Linked DNA regions of Homo sapiens: region 1 is linked to region 2. Evidence: promoter capture Hi-C in 16 types of primary human blood cells and fetal thymus (Javierre and others, 2016). All regions are on one chromosome and are shown on one strand. Each heading gives the region's core, a stretch centred on a gene start or on the middle of the fragment in contact. The rest is flanking DNA. Distances are from core to core; before and after follow the strand shown. Region 1 holds the start of CSK (C-terminal Src kinase). Region 2 overlaps SIN3A (SIN3 transcription regulator family member A).

Region 1 (5,191 bases), core at 1,976-4,475, 670 kb after region 2:
TTCTGTAGCTTTTTAGAAGCAACGTTACTTAGACCGCGTAGCACCATGAGAAAATGCCCACAGACGCAGTATTAAATGAAAAAAGGTGTCACGGCACACACACTCCAGTGACAACGACAATGAAGGAAAAGGATGGGGAAAAGACTGGCAGTGAACTCCAAAATGCTAACACAGTCACTGCCTGCTGAAGAAATAGTGGGTGATTTTTGTTTCATTTTCTAAATTTCCTGTAGCGCTGTTTTGTTATTTTCTAAATCAAGAAAATGAGTACATTCATGGTTTCCCTATAATGAGCTCAGATTCACTTCCCTGGGACCCACCTGCTCCCTAGCTCTGGCCCACGTGTCTGGGACAATTTCTGCCATGGGATGCCTTTCTCATTTGGGACAGTCCCTCAGACATATGAGAATCTGTCCCTACTTTCTCTTTCCCAGACTCAGTCAACATCCCTGGCTCTTTGAAGATGACCTGTCAAGGTTTTAAAATCCTTCAAAAGATGGAGCCCAGAACCGCACCCAGGTGGGTCTGCCCCCTTTGGGGGGCAGCCATGTCACACTGTGGATCCTGGGTCTCAACCCCTACCTATACTTGTTTGGAGGAAGCTGCATTCTGTCCCCGAAATTTCCAACCCTTGCCGAGGGCCACTCTGTGTGGCTCAGCCTTTTGGGGTCTGGCCCCCCTGCGGTGGTGAATGGGAACATTTTCTGCTTTTTCCTTGCCCCTGACCCAATGCAGAGAGAAGAGCAGCTGCTTCTGAGAGGGTGGAGGGCACCAAGCTCACCAATGAAAAGCACATCCCTGCACACGTGCCAGCCAGAAGCCAGACTCCTTTCTTCAAAGGCCCTGGGACCCTGGATCACACCTTCACAGCTCACAGTTGGTAAAAAAATAAAATAAAATAAAATAAAAATTAAAAAGGCTGACTGGGGTGGGAGGGAGCTAACCATGTCAGGCTCCAGCCCCAGTCCCTCAGGCTGGAAAGGAAGTTAGGGCTGGGTGTGGGGCCATGTGAGGGGAGTCTCACAGGCCCAGGACATCTGGGTCCCCTCCACTGTGCATGTCAGGACAGCCAGAAAAAAAAGTGAAAAAACAAAAAAACCCTAAATCGTGAGCAGGGACCCAGCAGGACAAAACTGCCAGCAGCTCCAAGGGAGCCCAGACACTGCTCAGCACCCACCAGGGCAATGCCTGCTCTCCTGGGCCAGAGGATCCTGCCAGGCCTCAACCTCACCCCTGCTGTCCTTGCCCTGTTCCTGCTGTGGCCACAACCAAGAAAGACACTGGAACCGCCAGGGTACTAGGAGCTTGAAACAGGCCCCCTGGGTGTCCCCACTCTCACAATGCTCCCATGTCCCCAGTCTGTAGCCTGCTGCCAGTGGAGACAGAGCTTCCACGGTTCCCATGTGACCCCATTTATATCCTGAACTTGGCTGCTCCTGTGCCAGCTGGGCCATAGGTGTGGCGAGTGCTGGGTCAGGACTGACCACCAGGTTGTTTCAACTCAGAGCCGGGGCCAGGACCGGACCTTCCTGCCACACCACACAGATGGCCATACACCACACATTCCCCACATCTCCTGCTAGCTGACCCAGCCACAGCTGGAGCCGGAAGCCCTTTCACTCCCTCCAGCCCTCTGCAGGGAAGCACGTGCTCAACCAACAAGGTCCCTCTGGGGCCGGGCTGGGGGCCTGTGTCCCCAGTGGGTGAAGGTGCCTGCCTGGTTTCCTTCCACCCACAGCCATCCAGCCCTGTATAGCTGGGGATGAAAGGACAGCCAGCCTAACTCCACTAGAGGCCTGGGGTAGCAACTTCTCCCTTTGAGCCTCGGTTCCCGGGTGTACAAAATGGGCGGGGAAGTGAACTGGTAGTTAAGCTCCAAAAAATCTGCTGGCTGGACACACCCCTTCCTGACACCTGGTCTGGGCCACAAAGAGCCTAGGAGAATGGGCTGCCCAGGGTGCCAGAAGGTGGGGGCATGGTGCTAATGCTCCGTTACCTCCCCCCGGGCAGAAGGCCTGCCCAGTTTCCCACCCAAAGATCCCTTGGCTTAGGCCTGGTCTTCTGAGAGGCCAAGGGTGACAGGCTCAGTCCTAGGACCTGGGCTTCTAACTGCTCACCCGAGGTGGCTGGGCCCTGGGCTTGCTTGCAGCCCGCAGGGTCATGGTGGGGTAATGAGGGAGGGGTCAGAACCAAGCAAGCCAGGGCACCTGCGGGGAGGCCCTGTACAGGGAAGGGCAGGGGAGTCCAGCACTCTCTCTAGGGACCTGGCCCATACGGATCCTCTTCCTCCAGACTCCAGCCACCTCCTACTCTGAGCTCCACAGAGGGGGGGACTCGGGATGACCCGAGAAGACGAGTCCGTGGAGCTGCAGGGCAGTACCTCCCTCATGCACTCCCTTCCAATTTGGGTTCTGACAGTGGCTCCTGGGAGAATTCGAACCCGTGCAAGGGAGTAAAGGAGAGAAGGGAGAAGTGGGAGAAGAGGGGAATGGGAGTGGACGCGACAGTGGCAGCAACAGAGACTAGACGCGCGACCTCCACCCTCTTCCCTCCAGGGGACACTCCGGGACGGCCAGGCACTCACCTCTCTTGGGGCACTGCGGTCCGGGCCACCTCGCCGCGGGCGGCATCAGCGGCCTGCGGGACGGTCCATGCGGTCAGGGGGGAGGGGAGGGGCGCAGGGGTCCCCAGGGGGTGCGGTACAAAGAGGTATGGGTGCAAGGAGAGGGGAGGAGGGACCGCCAGGCAGAGGCAGGGGGACGGACGCACGGCCCGGGTCGCGGAGGGAAGAAAGGCGGGGGAAGGGGGCGGGAGGGAGTCGGGGGGAGGAAACAATGTAGCCGGCGCGGCCCCGGCAGAGTTCCGCTTCCGAGCGCCGCCACTGAGGTTCGATTTTGGAACGTCGCGCTGGCTGCCGGGGGCCGCCCCGGACGCTCGATCGGGGCCGCGGGGCTCCTCGCGCTCCACGCCCCGCGGGCTCCGGCGGCCAGAGGCTGGCTGGGGCGGGAGGGACGGCGGGCCGGGTTACGGCCCCGACGGCGGCGCAGCCGGGCGGTCGCCCGGCTCGGACCCCACCCCGGCAGAAGCCCCCGGGCAAGGCGCGGGTGGGGCAGGAGCGGGAGGGCGGCAGCGGGCTCGGCGGCGGCGGCGGCCAACCTCGGCTCGCCCAGGGCTCCGCTGGGAGGAAGCTCGCAGGCCTGGCGAGAGGAAGCGCGGCCCGGATCCTCCGCCCGCGGCAGCGCGCCTGCGCGAGGGGGCCTGCCCGGCGCGCGGCGGGGCGTGGGCCGGCGGGGCGGCGCCCCCTGCCGGGCGCCGGGGGCACTGCGGGGGGTGTGTCCGCGCCCACGCCCTGCCCCCACTTGCCGCCTGGCTGCGTTGAAGGCTCCGAGGGTCTCTCCTCAGCCGGCCTGGGAGCAACCTCCCAGCCTTCTCTGGACGCAGCTTTCCCGCTGCAGAAGCGCTGGGGGCCGGGCCTGGGCCCCTCTCCTCAGGTCTGTTTGTGGAGAGTGGGCCTGATTCGCAGCAGAAAGCCTTCATTCATTCATTCACCAACATTTCCTGGCGCTGACATCGTGGCGGAGCCTGCTCTGGAGTCTATTGGCAAGACCATTTCACTACCGTCAAGGCGTTCTCGGTCGGGTGGGGGTAGGCTGACAGGCCGACAGACAACGGCAAGGAAATAATTGATCAAAGTGGAGAGGTGGTGGACACGGTTCCCAGGAGGCAGAAAGAAAACTAGGGCTAACGGGGAGACCTCACACCTCACAGAGCCGGGACCAGGCAGAGGGAACAGCATGCACAAGGGCGGGGAGTGCGGAGGGAGCTTGGTGGCTTCTGGGATCTAAATATAGCTCAGGCGGCTGCCGCTTGCAGTGTGGGTGGGGGAGAGTGGTGGGAGATGGGTTCCTGCAAACAACAGGGGCAAAAGAGATCCAAAGAGCCTCATGGGACTTTCTTGGAGTTTATGTTCAGCCTGGAGGCAATAAAGAAGTTGTCAGCAGCTCTGTGACCTTGGGCAAGTTACTTAACCTCTCTGTGCTTTAGTTTCCCCATTTGGTAAAATAGGTGATATATAATGGCACCGACTTCTTAAGTTTTTGTGGGGAGGGGAGGAAATGAGTTAATACGTTTAAAGTGCTTAGTATGCAGTAGCTGGCACGTGAGGAGCCCTCCGTTAAGCAAGGGCTGTTACATCACTGTTAACGAAAAGCAGGGAGATGACCTGCTCTGAGCCACAGGAGAGGACAGCGTGCTCAGGCATGACAGGGGTGGGAGAGTGCAGGGTGGCGGGGGAACAGAATGGGGATGCAGTGATGAGGGTGAGACCGGGGAACAGAATGGGGATACAGTGATGAGGGCGAGACCAGAGACTCCAGCGTAGGGAGGAGGTAAAGGTGGGGGACTTTCTAGGGACTAGACCCTGAAGCAAGGGTCAGGCTTGGGTGGACAGAGGGAAGAGGCACTCTTGGGGTTGGGGGGGAGGAAGTGGGGCATGCTGACAAAGTCTTGGAACACAAAATAAGCATGAAGAGGCCCGAGGGAGCGAGAAGAGGGCAAACAGCCCTGTGGGAGACGGAGCTGGGAGACAGTGTGGCTGCAGATTGTTTTAAAGAGCCTCGGATGCCAGGAGGAGTTGCCCCCAAAACCACAGGTCGGCCCTCTGACCCAGGGCACCCTTAGGCCGGTTTCCCAGCTGGAGCCAGCCCTTTGGAGAGGGATGTCCTTTGAGGAGACAGCCAGTAAGTTTCAGAGATAGGTGTGGTGTAACAGAAAAAAGATGAATTTGGGGTTCAAGTCTCCAAGTTAAATTTCAACCCGTCCACTTACTAGCTGTGTGACTTAGGGCTAGTTACCTAAGGTCTCTGAGCTGTTTCCTCTTTTGTAAGATCAGGCTCAAAATATACTTCTCTCATGATAGATAGTGCAGATTCAGCAAGATAACGGCCTGGGGGTGAGGGAGTGGAAAGGGTGCTCAGCAGAGCTGGTTTCCCTTTCTTTCCTCTGAGGTCAAGATGGAATGATAATATGGGGCCGGATGGGGGGCCGCCTCTCAGCCTACAAGAAAGCACTTCAGCAGCTCTGCAAAGCCTTCTGGGAGGGAGAAATTGACATCTCCCCTCCCCTGGCTGAATCAGCTAGCAGAATGGGAAAGAAAAGACTGGGGATTTGGGGAAAATACTCTAATCCCTGT
Region 2 (5,436 bases), core at 1,596-4,095:
TCTGTTTATAAAGTAGGGTTTGTTTTTTTTTTTTAAGAACTCAGACTTTGAATAAAATACTCCGATATCTCTGACAGTTGTATTTTTGAATGCTTTCATTGTGCACATGGTTCTGCTATATAAACTTAGTTTCCTGGACGGGCGCGGTGGCTCATGCCTGTAATCCTAGCACTTTGGGAGGCCGAGGCAGGTGGATCACTTGAGGTCAGGAGTTCGAGACCAGCCAGGCTTACATGGCGAAACCCTGTTTCTACTAAAAATACAAAAAAAAGCTGGGCGTGGTGGCAAGCGCCTGTAATCCCAGCTACTGGGGAGGCTGAGGCAGGAGAATCACTTGAACCCGGGAGGCGAGGGTGCAGTGAGCCGAGATGGTGCCATTGCACTGTAGCCTGGGCGACAGGAGCAAAACTCCGCCTCAAAAAACAACCAAAAAAACTTGGTTTCCTAAAGAATTTGCTATTTAGGTAACTATAGGTGAAAAGTCTTTTCTTTTTTATTTTATGTACTTATGTTAGACCATCTAGACCACTTTCTATTTATACTCTACATAGTACAGTGTTGTTGCCCTTTTTATTTCAGAGGAGGGTGGAATTGTGGATCAGGGTAGCCTTCTGTATGTGACTTCTGTAGCGTTGCCCTCCAGCCTGTATTGGAGAGTTGCCTTAGGGCATTTCAGATTTAGATAGCAGAACCACATTAGATGAGGTTTTTGCTTTCACTTGATACATTATCTTTTCCTATTGAGAGAAATTATTTCAATGTTTTTCACATTTTTCATGAGAAAAATAAACATGGAACCAATGTTTATTTATGCAGTAATGTCTAAATGAGCCTCTGGTTAATTATCTGAAGTGAAATTCTAGATTTGTGCTTTGGTTAGTAGGGCCTGAGTGGTACCCTGTGCTATATTTATGTGAAAAGGGTAGGTGGGTCCTACCTTCTCTGCTAAGGAAGTTGCAAAAGCAATAGCATTTTAGTTTAGCAAATGATGGCTGTAATAGAATTGGTGGGGAGACAAAAAATCCAGGTGGTTTTTTCTGATGCCATAAACTGAGAGAGATAGTGGAGAACGATTGACCATTGAGGAAAATTTGGGCTACATATATAGTTCCCATGATTTGCAGTGCTGTATACTGGGGAACACAGAAGAGTCTATAAGGATTCAAGTAAGAACCTGGTTTTGCTGTATTAGGAACATTTTCATAAATGCTTCATAATCTCCAGATAATTATTTTATATACTATAATTTTGTTCAGAGATAAATAGCTTAGAAAGATTGGCACTTCGTAATTAAGAGGGTTTTAATAATTTACATACAGAGAAAGACTTTTTTTCTTTTTTAAGGAAGGAGGTGTGTAGTAATTTGACAAGATTCCTGGTGAAGTATAATTCTTTTTACATCTTCAGTGGGAGCAGACAAGACACTGGAGAGCTGTGCATGGCAGATGTTAGTACCTGGGAATTTTAACTGGAATTAAGAGGTTATATCCCTGGCATTCAGTAGTTTAGCATAGTGCTTTTCATGGCTTTCTCTCTTTTCTGGGCAATCCACCAGCCAAGAGTTTGTTAAGCTTTACTTTCTGTAGGCCTTTAAAAAAATAAATAGTATATGCTTTTTCAAAATACACCTTCCTCGCCCCTTGAAAAATAAAAGCTGATATTTATTGAGCACTTACTGTGTCACAGATACTGTGTTAGGCACTAGACTTTTTTTTTTTTTTGAGATGGAGTCCTGCTCTGTCTCCCAGGCTGGAGTGCAGTGGTGCAATCTCAGCTCACTGCAACTTCCGCCTCCCGGGTTCTAGCGATTGTCCTGCCTCAGCCTCCACGAAGAAGAAGCTGGGGCGCCACCACACGCCTGGCTAAGTTTTGTACTTTTGGTAGAGGCAGGGTTTCACCATGTTGATCAGGTTGGTCGCAGACTCCTGACCTCGTGATCCGCCCGCCTCAGCCTCCCAAAGTACTGGGATTACAGGCATGATCCACTGCACCCGGCCGCATAATGTCTTTTTTTCTCATGTCTTTTTTTTTTTTTTTTTAGACGAAGTCTCGCTCTGTCACCAGGCTGGAGTGCAGTGGCATGATCACAGCTCACTGCAGTGTTGATCTTCTGGACTTAAGCGACCCTCCTACCTTAGCCTCCCATGTAGCTGGGACTACAGGTGTGTGCCACCACGCACCTGGCTAATTTTTTTTATATTTTTATAGAGGTGAAGTCCTGCTGTGTTGCCCAGGCTGGTCTCGAACTCCTGGGCTCAAGAGGTCCTTCTGCCTCAGCCTCTCAAAAGTGCTAGGATTAAGACGTGAGTCACCGTGCCCGGTCATGGGTGGCAATTTCTACCTGATGTATTTCTTATTTGCCCCTTTTGCTTTTGTTTTCCCTACCCACTTTTTGTCTTGTATGCTTGTATGTTACCCATATTTCTCAGCATGACAGTGGACCCTTCATGAGTCTTCTTGGTGTCCTCCAGGGCTAGGCTTGCTGACATATGGGCTATTGGAGGATATGCAGGTCCACATCCTTTATTTGCAGTTCTGAAATGCAAGAGTTTTTGTTTTTTGGTAAGTCTAGTTCCACAACTAGTTTTGGGGTACAGCCTGACCTGGGCTATCCTGCATGATGCAGAAATGTGACTGCTTGATTATGGGGAGCTACTCAGCCCTAGCTGGGAGAGAGAGATGATACAGTATATGTACCATATTACCTTTCTAAAATCCAAACAATGCTGATGACTCTAACGGGGATCTCTCCCTCTACCATAGACTAATATGTTTAGTGGCCCACTCAAGGTCTCCACTCGATGTCTCCTCTTGGATAACTAAGAGACATTGTTGACTCTTCTGTGTCTTTTTCATATGTGGTCCATCAGTAAATTTTACTGCTTTATATTCAAAATACTATCCAGAATTAGACCACTTAGGATCTGCATCTCCACTGCCCTAGTCAGTGCCTGTGCATCTCTAGCTTGGATTCTATTCTCCTTGTTTTGTTACTGCGGCTCTTAAATGTGTTCTCAACATAGCAACCCAAGTGATTCTTTTGAAACCTAAGTCATACCGTGTCACTTCTCTGCTTAAAACCATCCAGTGGCTTTCCATTTCAGTCTGAGTATTAAACCTGAGTCCTTATTTAGATATGTCTGTAATGAGCTGGGCGCGGTGGCCCATGCCTGTAATACCAGCACTTTGGGAGGCTGAGGCAGGCGGATCACGAGGTCAGGAGATTGAGACCATCCTGGCTAACATGGTCTCCACTAAAAAAAATACAAAAGAGTTAGCCGGGCATGGTGGCACACGCACCTGTAGTCCCAGCTACTCGGGAGGTTGAGGCAGGAGAATGGTGTGAACCCGGGAGGTGGAGCTTGCAGTGAGCCAAGATCGTGCCACTGCACTCTAGCCTGGGCGACAGAGCGAGACTGTCTCAAAAGAAAAAAAAAAGGATATGTCTGTAATTTCACCATTTTGGGAGCTCAAGTGGGAGGATCGTTTGAGTCCAGGAGTTTGAGACCAGCTTGGGCATCATAACAAGACCCTGTCTCTATAAAAAAATTAAAAATTAGCCAAGCATGCTGGCGCGTGCCTGTAGTCCCAGTTACTTGAGAGGCTGAGGCAGGAGGATTGCTTGAGCTCAGGAGCTTGAGGCTGCAGTGAGCCATGACTGTGCCACTGCACCCCAGCCTTGACGACAAAATGAGACCCTGTGTCAAAAAATAAAAAAACACCTGTAAGAACAAATCTGATGTACCCTCTGCCTGCCACCCTTATCCTAGTACCTCTCTGACTACATTTCTGACTAGTCCTTCTTTCGTTTTTCTTCAGCTACCCAGCCTTCATGCTGTTTTGGAACATGTCAAGCACATGTGAGCCCTCACAAAGACATGAGGGTCTTTGCGGTTGCTGTCCCCTCTGCCTAGAAGGCTTCCTCCACTAATTTCTGCATGACTAGCTCCCTCACTTCCTTTACTCAGAAGTTACCTTATCAGTAGGTATTATCTGACCATTCTTATCTACAATTTCAAAAACTCTTCCTTGCCTTTTGTTCTTGATACCTGTCACTGCCTACTATTCTAAATATTATACTTTGTCTATTGTGTCATCTTTCACTAAAATATAAGCTTCTTGAGGGAAGAGATTTTTGTTTACCGTTGTATCTCCAGCTCCTAAAACACCTGGTGCATAGTATGTGCTCAGTAGATATTAGAGAATGTATACATGAATGAATGATTTGGTTTCCACCACAGACAAGACAAAGCAGTATGCTGAGCATGGTAGAGGATACATAGATGGTTAAAGATGTTATGTGCCCATGTTTGTGTGGGAGCAGAAGAGCTAATGTGATAAAAGCAGTGTGAGATGTGAGTGACACTTCCACCTGTCCTTTCAAGAACTATCTCAAGTTCTATTCTTTGTAATGCTCTATTTTCTTTTCTTTCTTTCTTTTTTTTTTTTTTTTTTCTTTTTTTTGAGACAAGGTCTCACTGTGTTGCCCAGGCTAGAGTGCAGTGGTACTATCTCGGCTCATTGCACACACACACATACACACACCCAGCTTCAAGTGATTCTCCTGCCTCAGCCTCCCGAGCAGCTGGGATTACAGGCATGCGCCACTACACCCAGCTATTTATTTATTTATTTATTTATTTTGAGACGGAGTTTTGCTCTGTCTCCCAGGCTGGAGTGCAGTGGTGCAATCTCGGCTTGGCACAATCTCAGCTCACTGCAACCTCCACCTCCTGGGTTCAAGTGATTCTTCTGCCTTAGCCTCCCGAGTAGCTGGGATTACAGGCACCCACCACCATGCCTGGCTAATTTTTTTTTTTTTTTTTTTTTTTTTGAGACAGTGTCTCGCTCTGTCGCCCAGGCTGGAGTACAGTAGCGCGATCTCAGCTCACTGCAATCTCCCCTTCCCAGGTTCAAGCAGTTCTCCTGTCTCAGCCTCCTGAGTAGCTGGGATCACAGGCGCCACCACCATGCCTGGCTAATTTTTTGTATTTTTAGTAGAGACAGGGTTTTACCACGTTGACCAGCCTTGTCTTGAACTCCTGGCCTCAGGCAATCCACCTGCCTTGGCCTCCCGAAGTGCTGGGATTACAGGCATGAGCCACTGCACCTGGCCTTATAGATATTTTGAAAGATTATATTTCTTATATTAAATAGAGATAGGGTCTTACCATGTTGCTCAGGCTGGTCTTCCTGGACTCAAGCAATCCACCTGCCTCAGACACCCAAAGTGCTGAGATTACAGGTGTTAGCCACCATGCCTGGCCTAATACTTAATTTTTAAAAAACTTTTTCTTTGGAAATAATTTTAGACTTCAAAGAGAGTTGCAAAAATAATACAAATAATAGCCCTATAATCTTCACCTAGATTCCCCAAGTGCATCTTTTAAAACCACAATACAGTGATCAAATCAGAAAATCAACATTGATAACAAT

Evidence for each region. The method cuts DNA at HindIII sites, captures the fragments that hold promoters and counts their contacts. A CHiCAGO score of 5 or more calls a contact.
Region 1: a contact is called between the fragment with the promoter of CSK here and a fragment that was not itself captured in region 2, in 3 of 17 cell types (neutrophils, non-activated CD4 T cells and activated CD4 T cells). The highest score is 6.8, in neutrophils.

What each region holds. Positions count from the first base shown.
Region 1 is chr15:74,780,114-74,785,304 of GRCh38, reverse strand. CSK (C-terminal Src kinase) reads right to left here and starts at 3,225. Exons shown (of 13, transcript NM_004383.3): 1 at 2,585-3,225. RefSeq lists enhancers at 866-925, 936-1,065, 1,948-2,523, 3,566-3,635, 3,656-3,775 and silencers at 2,756-3,015, 3,126-3,345. The HindIII fragment of the contact is 10,374 bases long and covers 1-5,191 here.
Region 2 is chr15:75,444,779-75,450,214 of GRCh38, reverse strand. All of the region lies in intron 1 of SIN3A (SIN3 transcription regulator family member A), which reads left to right. Among named protein-coding and RNA genes, the nearest start is that of SIN3A, 4.2 kb to the left of the region's middle. RefSeq lists an enhancer at 1-107. The HindIII fragment of the contact is 2,544 bases long and covers 1,574-4,117 here.